2 separate regions of the Homo sapiens genome follow, and region 2 is linked to region 1. The links are contacts of gene promoters, found by promoter capture Hi-C in human tissues and cell types (Jung and others, 2019). All regions are on one chromosome and are shown on one strand. Each heading gives the region's core, a stretch centred on a gene start or on the middle of the fragment in contact. The rest is flanking DNA. Distances are from core to core; before and after follow the strand shown.

Region 1 (7,197 bases), core at 3,368-5,867:
CACTTTTCCAACTGAGAACAATCTAAGTTAAGCCCCTTAATCATTCCCATCTGGAGAGAAGGTGAGCGCCGTTTGGCTTGGAGCTCATTCATTCCCCATCATGCCTGACTTGAGTGCCTTCCACGATGCTGTGTCAGATGCCTTTCAGTAATGTAGTCAATGTGCACAGTACATCACAGGCTGCAAAGCCCTACCTTAACGTGGATCCTGGGAGGAATGATACTCAGACCAAGTCTAAGGCAGGGAGGATAAGAAACATTGTCCCATTGAACAGCTGAGGAAGCAGGCTAGAAATAAGTCTGGCAACTTTTTTCAGGTCACTAAGTGCAAAGTCACAGAGCCAGGACGATCTAAATGCTGAACTCTATTCTGCCCTCCTCTGCTGAGTGACATGTACAAGGGTGTTCCTTAGCTTCTTCTCGTTCCTTCCCAGGAAGGCTTCTCACCTGTAAGGGAACAAGAGTTCCTCTGTCCTAGTGTACAGTGATATGAAGTCTAGGAAAGGGAAAGACAAAAAGAAGACCTGGAGGAAGAGAAGAGGGGGCAGTAAATTTGAGGATTTGCTGAGATTGGGTTTTCAAGAATAAAAAACGCATATAGGGTAGTAATGGGATCCATTGTTCCCAAACATATTTCCTTTTGGCCCGGGTTGTTCCTAGACCCAGAATTAGAGCTTGTCGTGTCTCCTCCAAACAAGCAAAGAGTGCTCTTTTTGGCTACAAAGATCTGTCTCACTGGCTCCTCTGAGAGGTAGATTTATACCCAGGTCCAGAGTAAGCATTTAGGGGACAAATGATTTCATCAGAAGTAGTTTCATGTGGAATTCTTTGACGGTGAATGAGGCATTCCTAAATGCATGGATGGTGTTGTTGGCAGAATCATTGAGGACTGGAGAGGCAATTCTGTACCCAGGATACGTGTCTATTCCAGTAATGGCATATGTCCGCCCCCGCCCATGTTTGGAAGGTCCAGTGTAATCAACTTGCCACCAAGTGGCTGACTGGTCCCCTAGGGAAGGTGCCCCACTGGGGGCTGAGCATCTCCATTGCTTGCAGGTCAGGCATGCTTCAGTCCTGTTGGCAGTAGTCATGATCAGAATATTCACAGAGGGTGTTTCTGGGTAACAAGATGATTACTGTTGCCTTCTGGCTGATTTACATTTCATAATTTCCTAACAACTACTTTGCATTTCTTGTGTAACAAATAATAAAAGTAAATTTAAAATTGGCCTAAAGCAATTATTTAATGTGTTTAGGGAACAGAGTGAGAGGGGCAGGCAGGACCACCATTTGCATATGCCTGTGAACCTGAGACTGTCCTACTCATTCAATGACAGTCATAATAACCATCACTGGAATATCACCTCATCATGAGATGCTTACAACCCTGGATTTACAGAGGCAGAAATGTAGGCTCAGAGAAAGCCCTTTGTCTCTCTCTTTTTACTCATTCCCAGGAAGTGCCTCACCTGCAAGGGAGAGAGAGTTTACCTGAACATCTCGCCTATACATTGAGATGAAGACCAGCTAAAGAGAAAAGCAAAAATGAAAGCTAAGGCATGGAGGAGGGGAAGCAGGTGGGTGGGTTTTCAATGTTACACTTTGAGCTGGGGCTCAAAGCCAGGAGAGGAATGCCTCATTGTTGTCCTTGTTGATAGTGTGTCGCTAACTCTTTGCTTTGGTGCCATGTTCAGCTGGAACCTGAGGCTCTTAGGGACTTTAGGCCTCTGAGAAGTTTCCTTCCAGTGGGATATAGGATGTTTGATTTTCTTTAGCTGAAACCTGTGCTGTGGAGCGCTGTGATTACACAGTTCCTCCAATGACACTCAGTGCACACCCTGCTTTTGATGACATTTCCAAAGCCCCTATTAGAAGCCTAAACACTGCTTGCCATTGGATTATAAAACCATCAAAGCAACTCCATTTACTAGACTCAACTACCTGGCAGTTTCCCTATCATTGGGTTTAATTGGCTCAGTTATGAATTTGTTATTGACTTAACCTCATCTTTTATGGGAGGCATGCAAATAGCCCCTGCACCTTATCTTAAATTGTAATACTTGACAGTCTGAAGCTCCCATCAAAATAGAAGTCTTTTCATGTATCTGAGGATCCAAACTGTCATTCTGGGAATCTGAACTTTTGATTAATTGCACAATAATAAATTCTCACATCTTCTTTCCACATTCCTTGACTCGTCTTCTTTTTATGTTTATCTAGTGAGCCTTTTTATTTTAAATACTGTCAAAATGTTTTTATCATGTTTCTTAAGTTGCAAGGAGCATAAAGGAGCAGCAAGACTTCCTAAGTATGAAGACTTTCACAATGGTAAAACGAAACCAAACAAAAATCTCACCCACAAACATACATGGAATGCTTGTGTGCCAGGCATTGTGCTGAGAGCTTTACACTCTTCATTCGCTTATTCATCATTTATTCATGCTGCCAACACAGATTGAGAGCCTGTGATATGACAGACACACTTCCAGGATTCAAAACTAGGATGCTTAGTCCCTGCTCTTGTTTAGTAAGATAACAGTAAACAAGTAAACAGAATGTAAATGCGATCATTTTTGGCAGTGATAAATGTAATGAATGAACAAAACAGGAAGAGACTGAGGGAGAACAGCGACTTTGGAAAAGGTGCTCAGAGATAAAGGGCAAGATTGTTTCCTGGTTAGTTGGGATGGGAGTAGGACAGGAAGAATACACGTGAGTTTGGTGTGTTGGGCATGGCAGGGCTAACACATGGGCAGGAGGAGGCTTTGCAGTGCCCAGCTCCCATTTGGAGATATTCTGATCCAAGCAATTCCCTTTCCTTGGGCTTTTTCTCCTTTCCAGAGCCTGCTGGACTGGTTACTTACTCCAACTCACTGCTGAGCATTTATCTATTCACGGATGTACAGGGGTCCTACTGGGCACTGCCACGTTTCCATATGCTATTTCCTATAATTCCTCACAAAACCCATCAACCAGTGAACAGCCTTTTCCCCTGGGGTTCTTGTCATGAACTCTTCCCGTTTAATATTAAGTTCCCATGCTAGAGTCTGTTTCTGGACAAAGAATTCTGTTGCACTGAGAGTTTATTTTTGTACCGATCCCACACTGTTTTAATGATTTCAGTCTTACAGTTTAACTTCCTCTGGAAACTCCTCCCTTCTTGATTTGGAGACCTCTTTTGAGGTTCTCCCCTTTGATAGTCATTCTATAGGGTGGTGGTTCTCTGACCCTTCCCCTGCCCCAGCCCATACATTCCTACTCCCTTCCCTTCCTTCTTCCCTTCCCTGTCTCCTATGCTCTCCTTGGCCAACTTCTCCAGGCAAATCCAGAGCTGGTGTTCTTGCAGGTCTGATTCCTCTTTTCTTATACACTAGGGATAGATCCTCGGCCTTGTTCACAGGGTCTCCCCTCACCCCATGTCTCTCACCCCAGCTGACAGACATGAGGTGAGAGAGTGGGAAGGAAAGGAGGCCACAGATGCCATGGGGCAGCAGGAATGGAGGCTTCCCCGATGGCGGTGGGCATGGAAGAAGTGCAGGATGCTCCTGTCCTTTGTCAGTGTCTTACAAGATCTAGCCTTTGCCTGTGGCCTACTCTCATTAAGCTCAAGCCACCCTTCCCCTCCGCACCCGCTGTTCTGCTGTTTGGAGGGCTCTCTGGACATTTACATAGTTGCTCCCAGCTTGTCATTAGGGTCTCACCTCGAAGCATCACCTCCACAATAAGGCCTTCCACGACCAGCCGGTTTAGAGTGACTCCCCCAGTCACTATAGCGCAGCACTCTAATTTGTTACCACATACTATTTACCAATATCGGAAATTCTACTGTTAAAATTTGTCTTTTCATTGTCTTCCACCGGCTAGGACGGAGGTCTTAGGAGTGCAGAGACCTCATATCTTCAGGACAGAGATCACTACCCTTTGCCAGGGAAGCTCACGAGGGGTTACAGATTGGTTGATTGAATTGAAATTTGGACCAGAGAGGGAATGACTGGCTTGGGTGCAAGTCGGGAGCAAAGCAGGAATCAAAGATTCTGACTGCATTTCTTCAGTCCTTTGCCCACCCAGACAGGTGAAGGTGCTATTCAAAGATTGGGGGAGGAGAGGGCCGCGGCATCCACCATGAACCACGAACTAGAGGGAAGAGGGAAGAGGGAAGAGGGAAGAGGGAGTCACGAGCTTCGCTACCACAGAGCAGGTGCGTTCGCGGTGCGCCCGGCCTTGACCAACCCGACAACTTGGCTTTTACCTCTGAAGCCGAGGAGCAGGGGTAGGGGGTGAGGGAAATTCACAAAGCTGCAACCACAGAGCCAATGTTTGGTGGGCGACAACCCCCCAGTCCCTCCTCCCTTCCTCTTCTTCCCCCAACTGCCCGCCGTCACGCCCCATCCAGGGGAAGCCCCAACGCCCACGGGAGCTCCAGGAGCCGGGCTCTGCAGCCGCCTGGCGCACTGCCTGGTTGCAACGGGGGCGGCGGTAGCCCAGGCGATCCTGGGTCCCCAGACAATCAGCGGTGGGGGTCGGCGGGAAGAGGCGGGGCGCCGCCGCCCGGGCCTCCCGCCGCGACGGGGCGGGACAATGGGGCCCCACCCCGGGGAAGGAGGGAGGGAGGGACGCGGCGTGCTCTCGGCCCGCGGCGCGCTCGCTGCTGCTGCTGCTGACAGGCTGAGGCTGGAACGGGCGGGGAGGGGCGCGGGTGGGAGCGCGGAGGAGGGAGGAGGCGGCGGCGGCGGCGCGTGTGGCTGGCGGGCGGGAGGGCGGCTGGCACCGGGCTTGTAAATAAACTGCGATGCTGTCTTGGGCTCGCCGGCCTGGGTGCCGCCGCCGCCGCCGCCGCCCCGGAGCGCCGGTTCCAGGCTCCCGCCGCCGCGCGCCCTAGCGCCTCCGCGCCAGCCTCGCGCGCCCTCCCAGCTTCTCCGCAGCCCCCGGCCCGCGACCCTCGGGGTCCTGCGGCTGACCCGCGCGGGATGTGACCCCCTGACCCCCTGCCTGGCCTCCCCTGCCCCCCAGGGGGCCCGCCTTTGCCTGCTTTTGGGGGGGGGTGGGGAGGGGCGCGCGGATCATGGCATTGGAGTTCCCGGGCTTGCAGCCGCCGCCGCCGCCTCGTTCACGCACCCCGAGCGCCCCTTCTTCCCAGAGCAGCAGCGGAGAAGGCGAAGCGGCCGGCGGGGGCGAGGCAGATGGGGCTCAAGGCGCGCAGGGCGGCGGGGGCGGCTGGCGGCGGCGGCGACGGGGGCGGCGGAGGCGGCGGGGCGGCTAACCCAGCCGGAGGGGACGCGGCGGCGGCCGGCGACGAGGAGCGGAAAGTGGGGCTGGCGCCCGGCGACGTGGAGCAAGTCACCTTGGCGCTCGGGGCCGGAGCCGACAAAGACGGGACCCTGCTGCTGGAGGGCGGCGGCCGCGACGAGGGGCAGCGGAGGACCCCGCAGGGCATCGGGCTCCTGGCCAAGACCCCGCTGAGCCGCCCAGTCAAGAGAAACAACGCCAAGTACCGGCGCATCCAAACTTTGATCTACGACGCCCTGGAGAGACCGCGGGGCTGGGCGCTGCTTTACCACGCGTTGGTGTGAGTACCCGGCCGCTCGGGGCGCCCTCGGCGGCGGCGCGCTTGGGGACTTGGGGTCGGGGCTGGAGCTGAGAAGTCTCTGGGGCTTTAAGACCCATGGATGCTTTCCCGCTGAAGGGGAGACCAGCCCGTCCTCAGCACGCGTTTCCCTGGGTGTGTGTGTGTGTGTGTGTGTGTGTGTGTGTGTGTGTGTGTGTTGCCGCTCTCCGGGTGTTCCACACTAGGGGCTTAAAAAACGAAGCGTGGTTCCCCTGCTGATTTGGGCGGATGTGTGCGCGCGCGGGTGCACATTTATGACATCTTCTAGGGGTGTTGGTTTGGAAGCTTAAAATAATTATGTGGGTTTTTCCAATTAATGTGAGGGTTGAAGAGGATAAAGCGGGTCCTCCCGTGAGCTCTGTGTTTCTGTTTCGGGTGGATCCCTTCTGTTGGGATCGCCACTGAGTTTAGTTGGGGATGGGAGGGGTGCGCACCACCCATAGTGGGGAGCGTGTGTGTGTGTGTGTGTGTGTGTGTGTCGCTTGCTTGTGCCACCCTTCTGATCGCTGGGTACTGGTACAGAGAAGAACCTGGTGCTGCTCTGACTGGGAGCTGGGACTGGCCAAAATGCATGTTCTAGGATTCCTTTTAGGGAAGTGAATGGGAACGTGTGTGTCTAAGCCTAGACTGAGGGGCTGGGGCTTCACAGAGCCAGGAGGTGAGGGGGCCGGGGACTCTTTTGGCTGAAACATCTCCTTGATTTGGGATCCGATATTCCCTCAGCCTCAGTCGCTGCTGCTTCTCCTGCTTTGGCTGGCCTAGGGCACCGGGAATGTGAGGGGCTTGGCCTGGAGGTTTGCACCCAGGCACTGTTCTCCTAGAAAGAATCTCCTTGCTAGTCCGATGTAAATGCATGGCCAGAAGGAAGAAGGAACTCCCTCTGCACCTGCCACTGGGGATGGAAAATCCACCCGTATTTGGGAGGGGGGAGAGGATGGTGGGGGTGCTCCTCATTCAAGATTGGAAATCTGTGCTGTCAGCACCCATCTCGGAGCTGGCAGGGCACGTCCAGCCATCAAGCTCTGCCTTCTGGCTCTGGTTTAGTCATCCTGATGGCTGCTTCTAGGAAGCTGTACTGTACCAGGGTTTTGGCAGGGAATTGCCTATGACCTTGGCAACCCCCCCTCCCCCCTCTCTCCCCCACGCGTTTAGCAGTGGATTTTCCTCTCTATTCTCCTCCAATTCACCCATGACTGATGTGGTCGGAAGGGCTCAGGAGCCTTGGAGTTAGTTACACTACCTGCCAGTTTTTCTTGGTTAGAGACGTTTTTCTAGGTTCGGCCACCAGGTGGGGGCGTCCACACAGGACCTCAGACTTAGCAACAGGTTTCTTCAAGGAGGTTACCAAGCCCGGAGAGGGTGCCTTCCCGGAAACTAAGGAACCAGCAGGAAGGGTGGGGTGGGAGTGGGGCATTTTCCCAGAAACGTGGATGTTGGTGTCTGTATGAGTGTGCGTGTGTATGTGTGTGTGTGTGTGTCTATTTGCAGGTGTTGGTCGGGGTCTGGTTGGAGAGACGGCTTAACAATTGTTGCTCTTTCATTTGCTCTTTTTAGGTGGCCGAAAAAAAAGCATTAAAATACATTCCTCTCTCT
Region 2 (7,197 bases), core at 1,437-3,936, 48 kb before region 1:
CTCAAGCCCAGTGAAGGAAACTAAAGAGCGGGGGAGGGGGAAAGAACTTGAACAGCAAGGAAGGACTGTTAACAAGTTTTCTCAAAGGTAAGATAGCTGATGATACAGAGCAGGGGCACCTCTTAGTGGCCTGCGTGGTCCCCCAGGCATGGAGAAAAAAGAAAATCTTGAGTTCCTTCAGGGGAAATTTCAGGCACCCAGCTAGCCTTGAGAAGTAAATTAGCAACCTAATAAGCAGGAAGTAATAGTAGCTTACAACAATAGCTAAAGATATTAGAGCCACAAAATGCTTGGTTTCCTATAGAAACTGAAGATAAAATCTTAACATATGTCCCTGAGTTACTTTTCAGAAACTCAGACCCCTACTAAATGGAAAATATCATCCACTGGCATGTAGACCTCAGATAAAGGGAAATGGAGAATTGAACGTTGACTAAATTTTTTGTTGTAAATTTCAGTCTTTGTTCTAAATATCTTCCTGGGGGCGTGGAGGAAGTCATACCCAAAGGAATGGGTGAAAGAGACATTCCTTTCTGCTGATGCTAAGTTTTTAGACAAAGTTTAACTAAACACAAATCAAATTCTTTTAATCCACCCGTAACCTGCGGGCCCCATCCCCTTTGAGATGTCCCACCTTTTTAGGTAAAAGTAATGGATAGCCTCCATGTATTAATTTACGACTTTGCCTCCCTGCCTTTAAAAACCCTGGCTGGGCGTGGTGGCTCACGCCTGTAATCCAGCACTTTGGGAGGCCAAGGTGGGTGGATCACCTGAGGTCAGGAGTTTGAGACCGGCCCAGCTAATATGGTGAAACCCCATCTCTACTAAAAATACAAAAATTAGCTGGGTGTGGTGGCGTGCACATGTAATTCCAGCTACTTGGAAGGCTGAGGTAGGAGAATCACTTGAACCCAGGAAGCGGAGGTTGCAGGGAGCTGAAATCATGCCACTGCACTCCAGCCTGGGCAATAGAGTGAGACTCCAACTAAAAAAATAATAAAAAAAACCATTACATGTAGGCCATTGGGTAGTTTGGGTCTTAAGCATGAACTCCCTGATTCTCCTTGCTTGGCGCCCTGCAATAAATGCCTCACTTTCTCTTGCTGCAAATCCCAGTGCCAGCATTTGGCTCTGCTGTACTGGTTGGATGGATGCATGTCCAGTTTGGTGATACTGGGAGGATAGGACCAGCACAGGCAGGCAATTTACATTCTCTCACATCAGTTTTCAGCTGACATTCAAGGTGGTTTTGACCAAACTTATGGAAGCAGAATGTATGTTCTGTTTAAGCATTTTCTGTGTAGTCAGCATGCTCATAAGTAAGGCTAACGCCTCCTCCTCTTATTCTCAGAATGAACTTCCTAACTTCTTCTCTGACCATGGCTCTTTTGCCTCACCAGTGGCCTACTTTGCATGTCCCCCAGGCATTCAGTCTTATTAGGTACATTTTGGCCAACTCTCTACATGATAAAGCCTTAGGTATGTTTTAAGAAGCAAAACACTGATGTTATTAGAAGTTGTTCTTGAAATAAATGCATCTTTGGGGGTTTCCTTTCCTTTAAATGCAAATATCTCTAGGAGAATAAATACTGCAAAGATAAATAAACAGAGCCTCTGTCATCACAGAGATAATAGGGTGGTTGGGGAGGCAAATAAGTAAATTATCATTCCAGGGAAATGAATAAATTTTATGTAGGTGCTTAGAAATCTAATGAGACTTGAGCATAAACTCTGTGCACCTCCTTCTGACCATGAAACACACACACAAACACACACACCCCACAAGTGGCTGTCTTCTGGTCCTTTCTGAGCCCATAGTGAGAGGCTGATTTCTCTCTCTCTGTCTTTCTCTTTCTCTCCCTAGGGGTCCTCTATGTGATTCTGTCCTCCCCTACTCCACATGCCCCTTGTCTCTCTAAGGCAGGCATGACCACCCCCTTTCACATGCACATACGTAATGCCACCCCTAGTACTTAATTCTTGCTTAACCAGATATACTTCCCTACACCAGAAAGGAGTGTTTTGTAGTGTTTCCAGGAGACAATAAAGGGAGACACCTGTCCACCCTCTCCATCGGTGTGTGATTTTACTGACAACAGCATTGTCCTTTGGGACATACCCTGTGCTTCCTGCCATGTCCTAGGACAGGGTCAGGTGACTGGGGGTTGCATTGTGACTTTGCTACCACTTGGCTATGAGACCTTGGGGAAGTCATTTGGCCTCTCTGTACTCCAAGTGTTTTATCTAAGTTGGAGATAACAGTACCTGCCTTGTGGGGCTTTGGCAAAAGAAATAATAGACAGAAAAGTGCTTTGGAAATACCTGGGCACTGATTCTTATTGGCCACTTATCACTGGGTGAGCCTGGCAGGCGGCTCTGGGTGTCAGTGTCCTCCTGTGTCTAATGAAGGAAACGACATCTGGTCTGTACAGAGACTCAAGGACAATGTGGCAGACACAGGACAGACATCAGCAAGGCAAGTGGCTAGAGCGTAGGGGGCAAAAATGTAGATTCCTGAGGTAGATTGCCAGGGATACATGGACCAAGGGGGCCACTAGGAAATTACTTAATCTTCCTACACTTCAGCTTCTTCTCCACCCCTTGGAAGCTCTGCTTCTTCATCTGCACCACAGAGAATGATGACACCACCTTCTAGATTTGCTATGAGGAAGAAAGGAAAGATCTCCTGTAAATAATAGAATTGTGCCTGGCAAATAGGGAGCACTTTGTAAATGTCGGCTATGACTAGTTTTGCTTCTGATTTTCTCAATGACCCTGGACTATATTATACTCAATTTACTGATGTGTAAGCTGAGGCTAAGGAGGTCAACTGATTTATCTATGGTCACTGAGTTAGCTAGCAGGAGCTTAGAATTAAACCCTGGTGTTATAAGATGCAAGCTCAAGCTCTGCCTACCCTGTCAGGCCACCCTGTAAGAGGATGTGAGGAAGAAATGTCAAAGATGGGTCTGCACAGCTTGGTGCCTCATTCTTGGAGGAGCTCACTTCTTGAAAACAGGATCCCAATCCTACCACCCAAATAAAGGGTTTTCATAATAACCCCATATAACACTCTCCTCTATCCTGGGGGAAATGACCATAGAACATAGAAGCTGCATAACTTCAAAGTGATGAAAGTGATTATTTGGTCTGTAGCATCCTCCTAGAGAAAACAATCACATACAGTCACCAGAGATCCAGTTCGTCGTGGTGCTAGAGGAAGGTTGGAAGTGGGGACAAGTGTGGCTCTCTGTCCACTAGCTTAAGAGGGATGGAGTGCTTTTTAGTGCCCAGCTCCATATGCCAGAAAAGGGGATTGTTGTTAAACCATTGAAGCCTGTATTTTCCACTTAACTTCCCCATCGTGAGACATTTCTTCAAGTGTCCTCATCCTGCCCCAAAGACAATGCCTTGGTCTCACACATTCACAGAGGTGCAGAGCTCCGTTGTGGGGGGCTGGAGCTTCTTTGTCTTTTTTTTTCTTTCTTATATTTTAAAACTAGGTTTATGACTTGAAAGTGTGACATTTTCTACTTCTGTTTTAAGAGTGACGTTTTTATAGGCAACTGAGTGTAATATCTCAGTGGAACCTGCCATCTCAGTGATCCTAGTATTTCCAGGGAAGCCAGGGCGATCCCCACAGAGCTTCTTTCACAAGCCACACTGAGTTGAGGACTCTGCATGAACACATCATGGACATGTCTGAATTCTGGAGCTGATGCTTTTAGTGGAGGATGTGGGGATGGCAAAGAAGTCCAAATGCCTCTGTGTGAGAGAGGGAGAGAGAGAGAGAGAGAGAGAGAGAGAGAAAATGAGAATCTGAAGGAGAACATGACTCCTGGAGACTATTCAGAAACAGACTGGGGACAGAGGTGCCTGCCTGGGGGTTCGGTCACATGAGTTAAATGATTTTGCACAAATTATCTAGCTTCTCTGGGCCTGTAACACAGCCTAGTTATGAGCTCAGGTCTCCAAATCCTTTCAGATCTAGATTTGTTGAATAGAGCATAAGCTAAGATGCTCTGAGAAAGAGATAAGCAAACTCAGAAACGTTTTTTTAAAGTTAATTTCTCCCTTTCTTACACGCAAAATGCACTGAGGAAGGTGGATAGCAGGGGATGAACGGGCAGAGGAGGATGCTCCGCCAGGATGGGGAGGAAACCAAACCCTTCTGTTTGGATCCTCCAGCATTCTCCAGGTTGTTGCTTTTGTCCCCCTGGTCGAAGCTGACTCACCTACACCAGTTGCATGTTGCAGCCTGTGGGACAGAAGCAAAAAGAGGTAATGAAGGCAACGAGCCTTCCATCTTAAAGACTTGACCTGAAACTTATGCAGATTTCTTGTGCTTCTATCCCCTTGGCCAGACCAAGGCTTATGGACACATTTAGATTCATGGGAGGATTGAAAATATAACCTCTAGCTGGTTAGCCATGGGTCCAATAAACTCAGGGGAGATGCTAAAAGGAGGCGGAAGACAATAAGTGTCAGAAGATTAGCAGCAGGATCTCCTCCCATAAGATTGATTTGATACCCACCCCCATCACAATCACATGGTCCATGGAAATCAGAAACCCATGCAACAGTTTGAATAGTTTAAATTCCCTTGTTACTGTGATCACTGGGCTTCTTACTCTGTCTTGTTCTATACCATGCTATGTTGATCCTGGGGTGAAACTCAACCACCTACAAACCCCTCACTCAAAGCTTTAAGGAGTTACAAAGAGGGAGGAAGCATCACTTACCACATTGCATGGCACCTTAAAACCATGTATTAGCCCTGGGCTAATACACCTGTGTGGTGGCTCATGCCTGTAATCCCAACACTGAGAGGGAGTGTAGGAGGATAGCTTGAGTCCAGCGGTTCGGGACCAGCCTGAGCAACATAGGGAGACCCCATCTCTAAAATAATAAATAAATCATTAAAGTAGCTGGGCATAGTGGTGTACATCTGTGTTCCAGCTACTCAGGGTGCCACTGCAGGAGGATCGCTTGAGCCATGGAGGTCGAGGCTTCGGTGAGTTGTGATCACACCACTGCATACCAGCCTGGGCGACAGAGCGAGACTCTGTCTCAAAACAAAACAACAAAACCAACCAACCAACCAAACAAAATGTATTAGGTGTGAAAAGTCTAGCAAAGAACCCGTAGACACAGACCATCATAAATGTACCTGAAACTATCAAAGTTGGCCTTATTAACTTGCTGCAGCAAGGGAAACCACAGACCAGAGAAACCTGGGGGCACCTCTTTAGGCTGGAGTGGGAAGTTCTTTTTCTTAGGGTTTGGGCTTGTGCTGAAGGATTGTAAGGAGGAATGGAGAGGGATGAAGAAGAAGCAAGGATTGGTTCCAGACTGGGGACTGCCATTAAACTGGTGCAGTTTGGTAACTGAGTTTCTCTTCGTTTAGGGGTGAGAGAAATAGAGAGGGCTGGGGAAGTCATTTGCAACAAACTAGCAATCACTCAAAAAAAAGGGTTGTTAGTAATTTTGAGCGGCAGTTGACTTTGGGGAAAACACAGTTTTCTGCTGGCTTTGTCCCTGGCTTTATCTGTGTCGCCAGGCACCTCATTGGTCATTAGCGTGTGTGACATTTTACTTTCTAGAGTCCTTTTGGTCATCCCATCACTGGGGATTACTCTGGCAATGCCACCCTATGCTGTTCCCTATCCTTCACCACTTGCCTGACTCACTCCCCATTCTTCCCTTATTTCTCTTCTCCTTCTCATGAATAAGTGAGTGCATTTGGCTTATTTTCTATGCAAAATGACTTAATCTCTTTGTTCTTTGGACATCCAAATCTTTAGATAACCTTACTGAGGAATATTTCTTCCATTTGAAAAATTCTGGAGAAGCTAGTTAAGGTGATATTATTTTTGTCCCATTCAAATAATATGAGGAAAATGATGTCCACTTGCAGAGTGGTTGTGAATACAGAATGTACTCAAAAAATGTTAGTTCTCTCCTATCTTTAAAACTGGAAAATTTCTACAGCAGACTTTTTGGTGCTCCACACAGATCCCCTGAGATCCCCTGTCCTGCTTCTATGAGCCCCTGCCTGATTTCTGGGTGTGTTGTGCCTTTGCTGCCTTCAGCCATTACCTGAAGTTCTCTGCCCTAGGCTACTGAAGCCACCTGCAGTGAGCAGGAAGTAGCTCTGAGTTTGGTCTCCCTGGGGTGGTTCTTAGCCAAGGACTGACTGATGCAGGAATATGAACACCCAGCTTTCTCGCTTGAGTTGGTACAAACTCCAGAGTTTCCTGCAGGATTTGGCTGGAGACCTGGCATGAAATTTCACCCCTACTTGACTTCTTTCCAAGCAGTGCTTCCCCTGCTCCCTTTCCAGGTTCTCCTGGAAACATGTCCACACACATCATCTGCACATGAATCTTTTTGTCAGCACCTGCTTCTTGGAAAACCATGATTTTCTTAGGTAGAAAATGCATTTACCAAAGTCAAACGACTGGTCATTAAATACCCTCTCCTTGGATGCAGAGAGGCGAAAGAAAACTGTTGTAGAAGTCCAAGTGGTAGAATAGGAACCTGAGCAGGAATAAAGCTGGAGGGATGAAGAGGAGGCGGAGGGCACAGAAAGTGTGCATAGAACCCATAGAATCAGATGACGGAAGTGGCAGCTAACAGGAGGGTGTGAGTAGGAGCCAAGGATGGCTCTTCATTCACACCTTGGGAGATTGGGCAGATGGTGAACCTGGAAGCAAGGAGCAGAAGATGGGGTGGACGGAAGGTTAGTTTTCTGTGAGCATGCTATGCTTGCGGGGCATCCAGGTGGAAACCTTGCCACCACGACACAGAAAAGGGAAGTTCCAGGCACAGAGGCAATGTGTGAAGTTTATGTACCTGGGCCATGAAATTGTTAAAGTAGCAAATATGAAAACCAGTGGGAAAGAAAACACACAGGAACAGTGACACAGGAAAATAAAAATCGAGCATAAACAAAACCCTGAATCCCCCATAGGGAAAGTCCTTCCCAATGATGTCCAATTCCCTTTCCCCTACCAACTTATCCAAGCTATCTTTCTTCTGGTTGAACTGAGGCTATCTTTAATCTTAACATTATTTTAATTGGTTGTATCTGCCCAGTTCATAAGTTTTTCTTGTTGCTTCCTTAGTTCTTTGAGTCTCATTTTCTACATTTCTAAAGTGAAAGTATCCATCTCATAGGGTTACAATGAGGATTAA

What was found. Contacts are between HindIII fragments. The study calls those that stand out against the background at their distance.
Region 2: a contact is called between a fragment that was not itself captured here and the fragment with the promoter of KCNQ3 in region 1, in 2 of the 25 tissues and cell types used here (H1 embryonic stem cells and spleen).

What each region holds. Positions count from the first base shown.
Region 1 is chr8:132,478,515-132,485,711 of GRCh38, reverse strand. It overlaps KCNQ3 (potassium voltage-gated channel subfamily Q member 3), which reads left to right and starts at 4,617. Exons shown (of 15, transcript NM_004519.4): 1 at 4,617-5,565. The coding sequence starts at 5,180. The HindIII fragment of the contact is 18,452 bases long and covers 1-7,197 here.
Region 2 is chr8:132,524,174-132,531,370 of GRCh38, reverse strand. No RefSeq gene overlaps it. Among named protein-coding and RNA genes, the nearest start is that of HPYR1, 34 kb to the left of the region's middle. The HindIII fragment of the contact is 6,947 bases long and covers 1-6,159 here.